Regions from separate parts of the Homo sapiens genome. Here region 1 is linked to region 2. Evidence: promoter capture Hi-C in 16 types of primary human blood cells and fetal thymus (Javierre and others, 2016). All regions are on one chromosome and are shown on one strand. The core of a region is centred on a gene start or on the middle of the fragment in contact, and the rest is flanking DNA. Distances in the headings are between cores, read along the strand shown.

Region 1 (6,234 bases), core at 2,132-4,631, 470 kb before region 2:
ATCATAAAGTTCTAAGGGGAAAAAAAATCTAGGTTTCAAATACTTTTAAAATTAGGATTTCAAGTAGTAATTACTGAAGGAATGTTACCAATCCTGAATGACCAAATAGAAACTGCATATTTCTTCCTTATTCCTCAAAACCTGACGGCAACGTTGGCCTGAACAGGCCTCTGCCTGCATACCAATGGCCCTCTCTGGTCTGGAGCGTGTTGAAGATGCCAAGCTCTTATCAGAGGTAATTCTGGGTTTGTGGATTTTCTCGAATAAGACTAAGGGTACCTCATCAAACATACCTACCAGACTGCTCTAAAATAGGCCCTTATTTAGCCCCAGAAGCAAGGGTTTCCCAGCGCCTCAGAATGAAAAGAAACACTCCAGCCGGTCGAGTCTCCACAGTCTTTCTAATCTGGACAGCACCTCGAGCTCAGTCACAGCCAGAGCAGAGACACTTCTCCCTCTCCACCAGAGTGTTAGTCATTCCAAGAAACTGTATTAGCCCAGGCAAAGTACATAAAGGCAAAGTCTGCAAACAAATCTGGCACCTGGCCTGAAGCTTCCGCACTGTCTCTTCATCTTGCCGGGCCTGTCTCTCATCTTCAAGAGCCTCCTGCAGCTTTAGGTACATGTCTTCCAGCTCCCGTACTCGCTGTAAATACTGTTCCAGTTCAGAGGACTTTTGAGCAACCTGTTCTTCCATCTGCTGTCTGATCTGTTGGTATAAAAGGGTCTTGTTTAAATGCAGGTTGACTTCTTTCTCAGGGAAAGCCTCACCTCCACCTGAGGGGTTGCCCACAGCTGCAGCCTCAGCCCATCAGGGTGGCAGGACCCTGTCCTTCAATCCTTGAACTTAAAGATGGAGGAGATGAGGGTACCACACCCAATCGCAATAGTGAAAGAGTCTGGGAAGAGCAAATTATAACCCAAATTATGTTCTGCCCTGCTGTATTTTCCATCCCTTCCACTCCACATTTTAAGACTCAAGTCAAGAAAAAAATGTTTCCTTGTGTAATTTCTCTCTAAATTCCTTTCTGTCTTAAAGTCACAATCTTTTTACCAATAGGGTCTTCTCTAAAAGGAACGAACCTTTTCCCAGTCAGAGCAAACGAACCTTTTCCCAGTCTTCTTTAGTGTTACACTAAAGAAGAAGGAAAGGTCATCCAGCATGGGATTCCTCCCACACTTCCCTGGCTGTCTCCACTCCCTGGGGCACCTCCAGCCCTAGAGGAACTCAAGCATTTCAGTTAATCTGTATACGTTAATGGTTTTTCCCTTCTGGATTACAGAGTTTTGAATCCCTGCCTTAAAAATTACAAGACAAGAACATCCTAAATATAACAAACACATTAGCCTATTTCTCTGCAGTTGATAAAATATTTTCACTTGCATTAGCTCACTCTGTCTTCAGAAGAGTCATGAGAGAGCATGTGATAATCCTGAACTTAAAGAAGAAAAAGCCAATGTTCAGTAAGAAGGACCAGAGAGGAAACAAGACCAGACATTCTGGCTGTTTCTCTACATCACATTTGCCTTCCTCTTTTCTCTGAACCACAAACACATCTCTTTCAACTCTAAATAACAAAAAGTGACTAGAGGAAATGTCACATGCATCTATTTAGGCACTGGGCTTAGCACTCTCTGACAGAGTATCACTCAATGTGAGAAGACCTGTGTTCCAGCTAACCAGCTAACTACCTAAGACAACCTGGATCTTGGGTCTCTTGAAGATGGAAGCCTCTAGGATGAACCGGAGCTGCCAAGAGCAACAAATCAGACTCTAGATGTTCTCACAATTTCAGGATCTCACCCCCGCCATCCTTGCTTATTACAGAGGAGATATACCATGGAACCTATGCTTACTTTTTCCATAACTATTTATTTTCCAAATCAGAACTGTTTTGAGAATGAAAAGGAATGTTATTAATAATTATACCAGAATGGCAGGGACTCTCCCAGGCAAACCAGGAAATATAGTCACCCTAACCAAGCATTTATCACATCATTCCACAAATTTCTTTTTTTTTCTTTTTTGGAGACAGGGCCTTGCTCTGTCACCCAGGCTGGAGTGCAGTGGCAAAATCACAGCTCACAGTAGCCTTGAACTCCTGGGCTCAAGCAATCCTCCCACCTCAGCCTCCTAAGTAGCTGGAACTACAGGCATGTACCAACAGGCCTGGCTAATTCTTTTTTTTTTTTTTTTTTTTGTAGATATTGCCCAGGCTGGTCTTGAACTCCTGGGCTCAAGCAATTCTCATGCCTTGGCCTCCCAAAGTGCTGGGATTACAGGAGTGGGCCACCATGCCTGGCTCCATAAATTTCCACTTAGGAGTCTTGAAAACAAGGTTTATGTCTTTTGCCATTACATCTTTGGCACACTGCCTGGCACATAGAAGGTGTTCAATAAACAGATAATTAATGAATGAACAAACATGCAACTTCCCCTACAGCCCATTCCAGGTCAGTAGCAAAGCCAAGCTGATGACATGCCTCACTGTAGCCTCCAGCCCTTCCCTGTTCCCACCGACCCAGGCTGAGCTACTGCAGCTGCTTTCTCCAGCCATGTGATACTCACAAGCTTCTCTCTTTCCAGCTCTGTGCTGAACCTGGCCTGAAGTTCCACTTGAGTCTGAAGGCGTTTCTTTTCCTCTTCTGCTGCACGAGATGCTGCTTCCTCCAGTTTCTAGCCAATCAAAAACCCATCCACAGAAAAGCAGGTGTTAGAGTAGAAGTACATTAAAGAGAGAGAGACAGTCATACTTAAGTACAGGAAAAGCCAAACATTCTTAACATTCAATAAAGATAATAGAATAAAAACTTTTAGCTCCATTAGAATTCCAGTCTAACGATCTGCTGAATCAACATACAAAATAAATTAGGTAAATGAAAGACTATTGATAAGCCTGAACAACATTTTGCAAAGAAAGTTTTAGTACAGTCATTGAATTAAATTCACTTGGGATTGCATTCATGAGATTTTTATTTATTTATTTATTTATTTGAGACTGAGTCTTGCTCTGTCGCCAGGCTGGAGTGCAGTGGCACGATCTCGGCTCACTGCAACCTCCACCTCCCAGGTTCAAGTGATTCTCCTGCCTCAGCCTCCCGAGTAGCCGGGACTACAGGCACACACCACCACATCCAGCTAATTTTTGTATTTTTAGTAGACACGGGGTTTCATCATGTTGGCCAGGATAGTGTCGATCTCTTGACCTCGTGATCCGCCCACCTCAGCCTCCCGAAGTGCTGGGATTACAGGTGTAAGCCACCATGCCCAGCCACATTCATGAGATTTGAGAGCTATTTCTTGAGCTCTTTCTGTACAGTTTTTTCATCTTATACATTATTCATTATAACTTTTACCAGAACCAATTTCTAGAAGGGTGGCATAAGGAGCTCCACAGACCCTTTCCCCAACAAAACAACCATAACTGGTGAAAATTATTGTTAAAAAAACAAAACCTTTAAAAGTCTCTAGAAATTATGCTAAGGACATTCTAAAATGGAGAACATTTATCTAAGAAAATCTAACTCTCAGTAAGAATCGTGAGGGTCTGTGGCATATGATGCACTCCCTCCCCACCCCCACAGTGTCAGTGAGAAGAAAGCTCTTCTCCTGGCAGATGGAACCCCAAACAAGGGTTCCCCTCCCCTCAGCTCAAGCCTAGGGCTATGATACCTTCCTGGGAGGGGCAGGCTGGCTGCCAGAATTTCTCTTTGTCCCCAGCTGCATGTTGCAGAAACTTTATTCCAGGCAAGAGTGGCTGAGAATTAAGAGGAGGCCAGAAGCTCCATGAGAACAACACACTAACACACGGACCAGCTAAAAGTGTTGTTGGTTTGTTGGTTGACTGCTATGAGGTCTCGCTATGTTGCCCAGGCTGGTCTCAAATTCCTGGCCTCAAGTGATCCTCCCACCCTGTCCTCCCAAAGTGATTAACAGGTGTGAGCCACTGCTCTTCCAGACCAGCCAAACGTCTGACAGACAGAACCAGAGAAAGAGACAGCTAAGAAGAGTTCTCATGTAGTAGGAACAAGTCTCAAAGACTGACCTTAAAGACTACATGTAGGCCTGAATTTAAATGATCTCAGACTGTGAGGCAATTCAGGTTCCAGGGCATTATGGAGAACAACAGAACAAAATTAGTGAACTCTAACAGCTGTTGGTGTGGTACCAACAGAGGTGGAAAGCTTAAATGAGAGATCAGAGAAAGACACTCAAAGAGAGCCCTGCAAAAATCAGGGTCTTCGCAGGGTGACTGTGTTCCTGTCCAAGCCTGTGCCTCTGAGGAGCAACAGTCAGAAGCTTCACACTGTGAGGAAAACAAACTTCACTGAAATAGTCCAGCCAAGTCACTAAACAAATAAAGGAGCAAACAACAGCAGGCCTCTGGGGAGAGGGGTGGAATCAGAATCCAGAGTTGCTACCACACATTATCTAAAATGTCTAGTTTTCTACAAGAAATTATGAGACATGCAAAGAAAAAGGAAAGTATGGCCCATATACAGGGAAAAAGCAGGCAACGGAAACTGCCTTTGAAGAGGCCCAGATGGTGGATTTAGCATATGAAGACTTCAAAGCAGTTATAAATATTTTATGCTCAAATAACTAAAGGAAACCATACTTAGAGAAGTAATGGAAGGAATGACAATATACCATAAAATAGAGAATAATAAAGAGATATAAATCACAGAAAAAACCAAATGGAAATTCTGGAAGTAAAAAGTCCCATAACTGAAACGAAAAATTCACTAGAGGGACTCAACAGTATATTTGGGCTACAAGAAAAATCTACTAAAGACAGATCTATAGAAATTATGCAACTGGAAAACAGAAAATAAAAAAGAAGAAAAATGAACACAGCCTTAGAGAAATGTGGGACACCATTATGTGCACCAACATTTGCATAACGAAAGTATCAGAAGAGGGAAAAAAAAGTAGAAAAAATATTTGTGGCTGAAAACTTATCCAGCTTAAGGCAAAACATTAATCTACATATTCAAGTTCAATACACTCTAAACAGGATAAACACAAAGAGATCTACACCCACATACACCACAGTAAAACTGTTGAAAGACAAAGACCAAAAAATAATCTTAAAAGCAGAAAAAGAAAAATGATTTACCACACACAAGGGAACTCCTGCAAGCTTGACAGCTGACTACTCATCAGAAAGTTCTGACTAGTTCTCACCAAGATATTATCAATAGAAGTACAGTGTGACATTTCTAGGCTGGAGCACCGCATTGCCAAACCCTAGAACACTTTTTCTTCCGGCACAGTGAATAGCAACACTCAAGATGGCGGCTGGTCCATCAGCCCGGATTTCATAATTACACACTTTGACCCAGCATTCCCACTTCTGAGAATTCATTCCCTAGAGATATCAGAACATGTATGAACACATATACAATGACACAGGTACAAGATTATTCCCTACAGCATTACCTATTAAAACAAAAGATTAACACAACCCAAATGTTCACTAACAGGGAATGACTAAGTAATGACACAGTTGTATAACAGAATATTCTACAGCCATAAAAAAGAATGAGGTAACTCTCTTTATACTGATATGAAAAGATCTAAAAAATATATTAAGTGAAATAAACTGGAGGCAGAACAGTGACACTAGTATATACTTTTGTGTGTTTAACAAATGGGAAAATAAGAATGTATATTCATATTTCCTTACCTTGGGCAAGGGGTGGAAATTCATAAGTGGGGGAGGGGGAGAAAATCTTTCACAGCTGCCTTTTTATATTTGTATATTTTTGAACCTACCCAAATGATTATATTTTTTAAAAGAAACAAAAGTAGAAATAAAAATTTAAGTAAATTCTTTAAGTAAATCTATTAATTTATAAAAACTACCATGATTTCTTATTCCTTCTTCTAATTAAAATGAGGCCTGTCAAATTTTAAGAAACCCACAGATATGTAACCTAATTCCAGATGATTAAAAGATTCAGCTGGGCATGGTGCCTCATTCCTGTAATCCCAGCACTTTGGGAGGCTGAAGTGGGTGGATTGCTTGAACCCAGGAGTTTGAGACTAGCCTGGGCAACATGGCAAAACCTCATCTCTATTAAAAATACAAAAAAATTAGCCAGGTATGGTGGTGCACACCTGTAGTCCCAGCTACTTGAGATATTGAGGCAAGAAGATGTCTTGAGCAGGGGAGTGAGCATGGCACCACTGCACTCCAGCCTGAACAACAGAGCGGGACCCTGTCTCAA
Region 2 (5,863 bases), core at 1,521-4,020:
TTCTCCACTCTGGTCTCAAACTCCTGGGTTCAAGCAGTCCTCCTGCCTCAGCTGCCCAAAGTGTTGGGATTACCAGCGTGAGTGTGAACCACGACGCCTGGCCGAGGATAAATTCTTTAGCCTGGTATTTGAATCCATGCCTCCTTCCTCTGTTCTCCTTCTTCCTCCCCTGCCCTGGTTTCATTCCCTTTAAACTCTCCATCTCCCATCTTAATGTTAATGAATTACTTGTTGATGCCTGAACATACCCTTTTATCTGTTGCTCCCTGTTGTTACACATACTGAGTTAAACATCTTTCCCTGCCCCTTTTTACCTGAGAAACTTCCTGTTGATCCTCTGGAACTCAGGTCAGAGTATATACCTCCTTCTGGAAACCTTCCCTGACCATTCCCCAATCTGGAAAGATGTCCTCCTTCTGTGCTCTGTAACTTTCTTTTTTTCTTTTTTTTTTTTCAGGGTGTCTCTGTTGCCAGGCTGGAGTGCAGTGGCGCCATCTTGGCTCACTGCAACCTCCACCTCCCGAGTTTAAGCAATTCTCCTGCCTTATCCTCCTGAGTAGCTGGGATTACAGGCACCACCATACCCAGCTAATTTTTATAATTTTAGTACAGATGGGGTTTCACCATGTTGGCCAGGATGGTCTTGATCTCCTGACCTCGTGATCTGCCTGCCTTGGCCACCTAAAGTGCTGGGATTACAGGTGTCAGCCACCACGCCTGGCATATTTATTTATTTATTTATTTATTTATTTAGAGGTAGAGCCTCATTCTGTTGCCCAGGCTAGAGTGCAGTGGCACGATCTCGGCTTACTGCAACCTCTGCCTCTTGAGTTGAAGCGATTCTCCTGCCTCAGCCTCCTGAGGAGCTGGGACTAAAGTTGCCTGCCACCACACCCTGCTAATTTTATATTTTTGGTAGAGATGGGATTTCACCATATTGGTCAGGCTGGTCTTGAACTTCTGACCTTAAGCGATCCGCCAGCCTTGGCCTCCCCAAGTTCTGGGATTACAGGTGTGAGCCACCACGCCCAGCCTCTGTGACTGTTTAACTCACTAATCCCCCTCTACTGTCTCTGTGTCCCCAGCATGCAGGATACGGGTGGAGCATCACCATGAATGGGCGTTTTGAAGCAACCTTCTCCTCCCCACTTTTCTCCCCCTAGTTCAGGCAGGTTAGATACAGGGAGGAACAGGTGCTATGGCTCCGAGAGACAATGGCTATAACCTCTAGGTAAACCTCCCCAAGGGAAACAATATTTGAGAGAAGTACCCAGGAGAACCTAGGAGAGAGCCTAGGCTCAGCCTTTGGGGAAGCCAGCTGCCTTCTACAGCTCTTAGTGGCAGCCTCCCAGAACAAACCGTAAGAGTACTTCCTTCTGGAACAATAATAATAATCCAGGCTGGGGGCTCATTGGCTCATGCCTGTAATCCCAGCACTTTAGGAGGCAGAGGAGGGCGGATCACCTGAGGTCAGGAGTTCGAGACCAGCCTGACCAACACGGTGAATCCCTGTCTCTACTGAATACAAAAAATTAGCCGAGTGTGGTGGTGCGCGCCTGTAATCCTAGCTACTTGGGTGGCTGAGGCAGGAGAATCACTTGAACCTGGGAGGCAGAGGTGCAGTGAGCCGAGATTACGCCATTGCACTCCAGCCTGGGCAACAAGACAGAACTCCGTCTTGAAAAAAAAAATCTGTAATATTTACTGAGTGATTTCCATGTTCCAGGCAGTATTCTCATTGTTTTACCTGTACTTGCATTTACCTTATGTAATTGTCTCAAAAACCATGACGCCAGGCACTTAGAGATTAACTTGCTCAAGGTCAAAAGTAAATGATCGTCAGGATTGAAATCCGAGCATTTTTTTCTAGAGCCCATGCTAGTGACCACTATACCTGTGTTGCCTTTCTGGCCTCTGATCTCCAGTTTCCAACAAAGACACATCTGCCTAGCTTCTATGGGAAAGGAAATCGGAGGGTCCTAGGACAAGGACCAATAGGTAAGTTTCCCTTCGCCTCCTCCCTATCCTCTTACAGGAAAACAGGTTTAGGGGTGGATCTGAGAGTTTTCACAGAGTGAAGAGGAAGAGGAGCTCCCAAATGGCAGGCGCCTCTGGAGGCTTCCAGAGAAAAAAGGAGAGAGCGTGGGAAAAGGGCAGGCTGGGAGGTGGGAGCGGCGAGGAACGGGGAGCTGACCACAAGCCCAGGATTCCAGACCAGGCTTATGTCTCTTAGACTCAGCGTAACCTTGGATAAGTCCTTGCTTCTTTCTGAGACTCAGTTTCCCCGTCTGTAAAATAAGGGTAAATATAAAACCGGCTCATCCGCCCCTGCCAAAAGAGAGGACAGGGAGAAGGCCCTGTCTGGGGTCTAGGCTGACACGCTGCAGCTAGGATTAGGTGAGCTTCCGAGCTCAGTCGTGAGACCCCATCCTCATGGCAAGGCCGCGCTAAGATCTCTGGACCTCTGCTTGCTGGGTGGGTGGTTGGGGGCAGAGCATGGGCCAAATGCCCGGCTCTGCAGGCTGCGCCCACTCTTCTCGCACCTCCTCAGCCCTCCCTAAAGGAGTCTCAATCCCGGGGGAGTGGCAGTTGCGGGCGACCAAGCAGTCACCGGCTGCGCTGCGGCGACCTCCCGGGAAGCTGCGGCCGGCGGGGTCCGAAGAGCATCACGTCATCCTTTCCCCCAGGAGCCCGCCCCCTCCCAGACGGCGCCTGCGCAGGCGCGGTAGGAGGAGGGTCACGGTGGGGGCTGTCCACGCGCTCTCCGCCCTTCTCCAGGCTCGCTCGGGCCGCGGCGCTCTCGGCTAGCTGCAGCGGCGGCGGCGCGGAGGGGAAGGCATCCAGGATGCGGTGCGGGGCGGCCCGGTGCCCCCCCGCCCCGTCACGGCAGCCGCGGCGGCCGAGGGGACCGGGCCAGGGCCGGGGGCGGCGGCCCGAGCCGCGGTAGCGGCGGCGGCGGGAGGGGCGGCCTGAGGGCGGACGGGCGGGCGCCCGGGTTGCGGGGGCTCGGTGCCGCTCCGCACTGCCCGGCCGGTCTCGGCCCCGGCGCCATGAGTGGCGGCGGCGGCGGAGGGGGCTCGGCGCCCAGTCGCTTCGCCGACTACTTTGTCATCTGCGGACTGGACACGGAGACCGGGCTGGAGCCGGACGAGCTGTCGGGTGAGTGCGCGCCGAGCCCGGGGCGCTTTCCCGCGCCCGCTGTCGTCGGGGACCCCAGAAGAAACCTTCCTTCAGCCCCGCTTTGTCCCGGGAGCCGGGCGAGTGTCGGCCGGGAGGACCAGGGCGGGCGCGGGCGAAGGGGGCTTTGGACTGGAGGGGGGAAACGGATGAGGGGCTCTGAGCCATGAGGGGTCCAAACCTACGGCCCGCTGCGCAGTGGCCACGTCTTCGGCGACCAGAAAGAGGGAGGGTTGTGTGTTCTCAGTTTGGTGTAGGTTGAGTGACTTCGTTTAAAATAAAGGAAAGCTTGTCCTCTGGCACCCATTAGGGAGGGAAGGCGTCCCACGTCCTAGTGAAAGTAAGTTCCACCCAGACTTAAAAAAAAGGAAAACAAAAACTTGGTGAGTTTATCTGGCCACTTCCCAAGAAGCTTGTGATACTAGTTCCTCAAAACCGTTATACCCCAGCCCTGGGCTGGGCCCCCTGAGTCAGATTGCAGCTCTGCGCGTCTGGATGGGATATGAAGTAATAAAGTGAACTTGGGCGGCACCAAGAAGAGTAGGAACTCCCTTAGCCTTGGAAAGGGCTTGTATCCCGGGGCCATGCCTTTTTTGAAAAGTAATTTATGTCCTTTATGAGGACAGAGGCGTTTGTGAATAAAAGGGTAGCAGCATTGTAGTTGGAGAGGCTTGGTGTGTTCTGATGCGTTTCAAGTCATATTTGAAAGGGAAAGTGATGAGGGGAGTCAAAGATGGGGCCCTGACCAGATTTGGCACTCACTGCAGAAGGCCGTGAAAATTATACAGTCCCCGTGAATTTTCCACTGCACTGTCATTGGAGTCTTTGAATTGTAACAGTTTTGAAAATAAGTTTTTGTCTGGAGTTTCCAGTTAGTGGGTTTCAAGTGGGTGGAGGTTTGTCGGGTTGTACTTTAAGGTTGTGTCATCCTGATGAGGGGGACTCCTTTTCACTTTTCTGTCACTGTAAAGTTTCTCTTTCGAAAGTGATTATCCTGTTGACTAATCTTACTCGGCTTCAACGATGACAAGACAGTTTTGTTTTTGGGCACCAGAAAAAGTCCAGTGTTTCTTTTTTTTTTTTTTTTTTTTTTTGAGACGGAGTCTCGCTCTGTCGCCCAGGCCGGACTGCGGACTGCAGTGGCGCAATCTCGGCTCACTGCAAGCTCCGCTTCCCGGGTTCACGCCATTCTCCTGCCTCAGCCTCCCGAGTAGCTGGGACTACAGGCGCCCGCCACCGCGCCCGGCTAATTTTTTGTATTTTTAGTAGAGACGGGGTTTCACCTTGTTAGCCAGGATGGTCTCGATCTCCTGACCTCATGATCCACCCGCCTCGGCCTCCCAAAGTGCTGGGATTACAGGCGTGAGCCACCGCGCCCGGCCCAGTGTTTCTTATGAAAAAAAAATTAGGCGGGGCGCGGTGGCCCACCACCCGGCGGCTCAGGGGTAATCCCAGCACTTTGGGAGGCCGAGGCGGGCGGGTCACCTGAGGTCAGGAGTTCGAGACCAATTTGGCCAACATGGTGAAACCCCCGTCTCTACTAAAAATACAAAAATTAGCCGGGCGTCGTGGCGCGTGCCTGTAATCCCAGCTACTCAGGAGGCTGAGGTAGGAGGATCGCTTTAACCCAGGAGGGGGAGGTTGCAGTGAGCTGAGATTGCGCCAGTCTGGGTGATTGCGCCACTACACTCCAGTCTGGGTGATAAAGCGAGACTCTGTCTGGGAAAAAAGAAAAAGAAGAAAAAAGCATGATAAATTCATGCTTTAACAAGGTTAGAAAAAAATGAGCTATTTCCTCAATAGCAGGTGGAGAAAATATGAAGCAGTAATATAATTAATATTAGGCTTTTTGTCGGGGTAGTTTTATGGTTTCTAATTTACTTTAAAAAAATTTTAGTTTTAGGCCGGGCGCGGTGGCTCACGCCTGTAATCCCAGCACTTTGGGAGGCTGAGGCGGGCGGATCACGAAGTCAGGAGATCGAGACCATCCGGGCTTACAGGGTGAAACCCCGTCTCTACTAAAAATACAAAAAATTAGCCGGGCGTGGTGGCGGGCGCCTGTAGTCCCAGCTACTCAGGAGGCTGAGGCAGGAGAATGGCGTGAACCCGGGAGGCGGAGCTCGCAGTGAGCCCAGATCGCGCCACTGCACTCCAGCACTCTAGCCTGGGCGACAGAGCGAGACTCCGTCCAAAAAAAAAAAATTATTTTGATGAGTACCTAATAATTGTTCAAGTTTATCTTTTAAGGTCTTCAAATTCTTATAGTACAGATGTTTTTCATCTTTTTCATATGTAGTAAGTTTGTGACTTTGATGTAATTTTTGGAATTCGGTTCAGGGTATTGGTGTTGGAAGGGACCTCAGAGGGGAAAATGAGGCCCAGGAAGGACAGTGGGGCCTGTATACACTAGTTAATTGCTTGGTCCAGTGCTCTTCTCATGACATTAAACTGCATCTCATTGGCCTGGCTGGAGGTCTTTAGAAAACACTAACATGTTGAGAAATATTAAAAACAACATAATTCTTCTCAGTAAAAGAAACTAAGGTGGTGGAATAAACTTTTTTTTATGCGTGTTTTTGAGTGTCAAATTGTATGAACACTTGGTTTGAGAAGATAGAATGTTTTGCGAATGATAGAGCATAAGAATGAAGCTGGGAAGTTAACTGTTAGCGAGAGCATGAGTTTA

What was found. Contacts are between HindIII fragments. The CHiCAGO score rates a contact against its expected background, and 5 or more counts as called.
Region 1: a contact is called between a fragment that was not itself captured here and the fragment with the promoter of DENND5A in region 2, in 2 of 17 cell types (M2 macrophages and M0 macrophages). The highest score is 6.9, in M2 macrophages.

Annotation. Positions count from the first base shown.
Region 1 is chr11:9,734,656-9,740,889 of GRCh38, reverse strand. It overlaps SWAP70 (switching B cell complex subunit SWAP70), which reads right to left. Exons shown (of 12, transcript NM_015055.4): 8 at 2,570-2,677; 9 at 543-709. Among named protein-coding and RNA genes, the nearest start is that of SBF2-AS1, 21 kb to the left of the region's middle. RefSeq lists an enhancer at 315-434. The HindIII fragment of the contact is 1,613 bases long and covers 2,575-4,187 here.
Region 2 is chr11:9,262,257-9,268,119 of GRCh38, reverse strand. DENND5A (DENN domain containing 5A) reads left to right here and starts at 2,770. Exons shown (of 23, transcript NM_015213.4): 1 at 2,770-3,159. The coding sequence starts at 3,051. RefSeq lists enhancers at 2,469-2,538, 3,619-3,738, 3,899-4,238 and silencers at 2,819-2,918, 2,969-3,328. The HindIII fragment of the contact is 8,855 bases long and covers 1-3,467 here.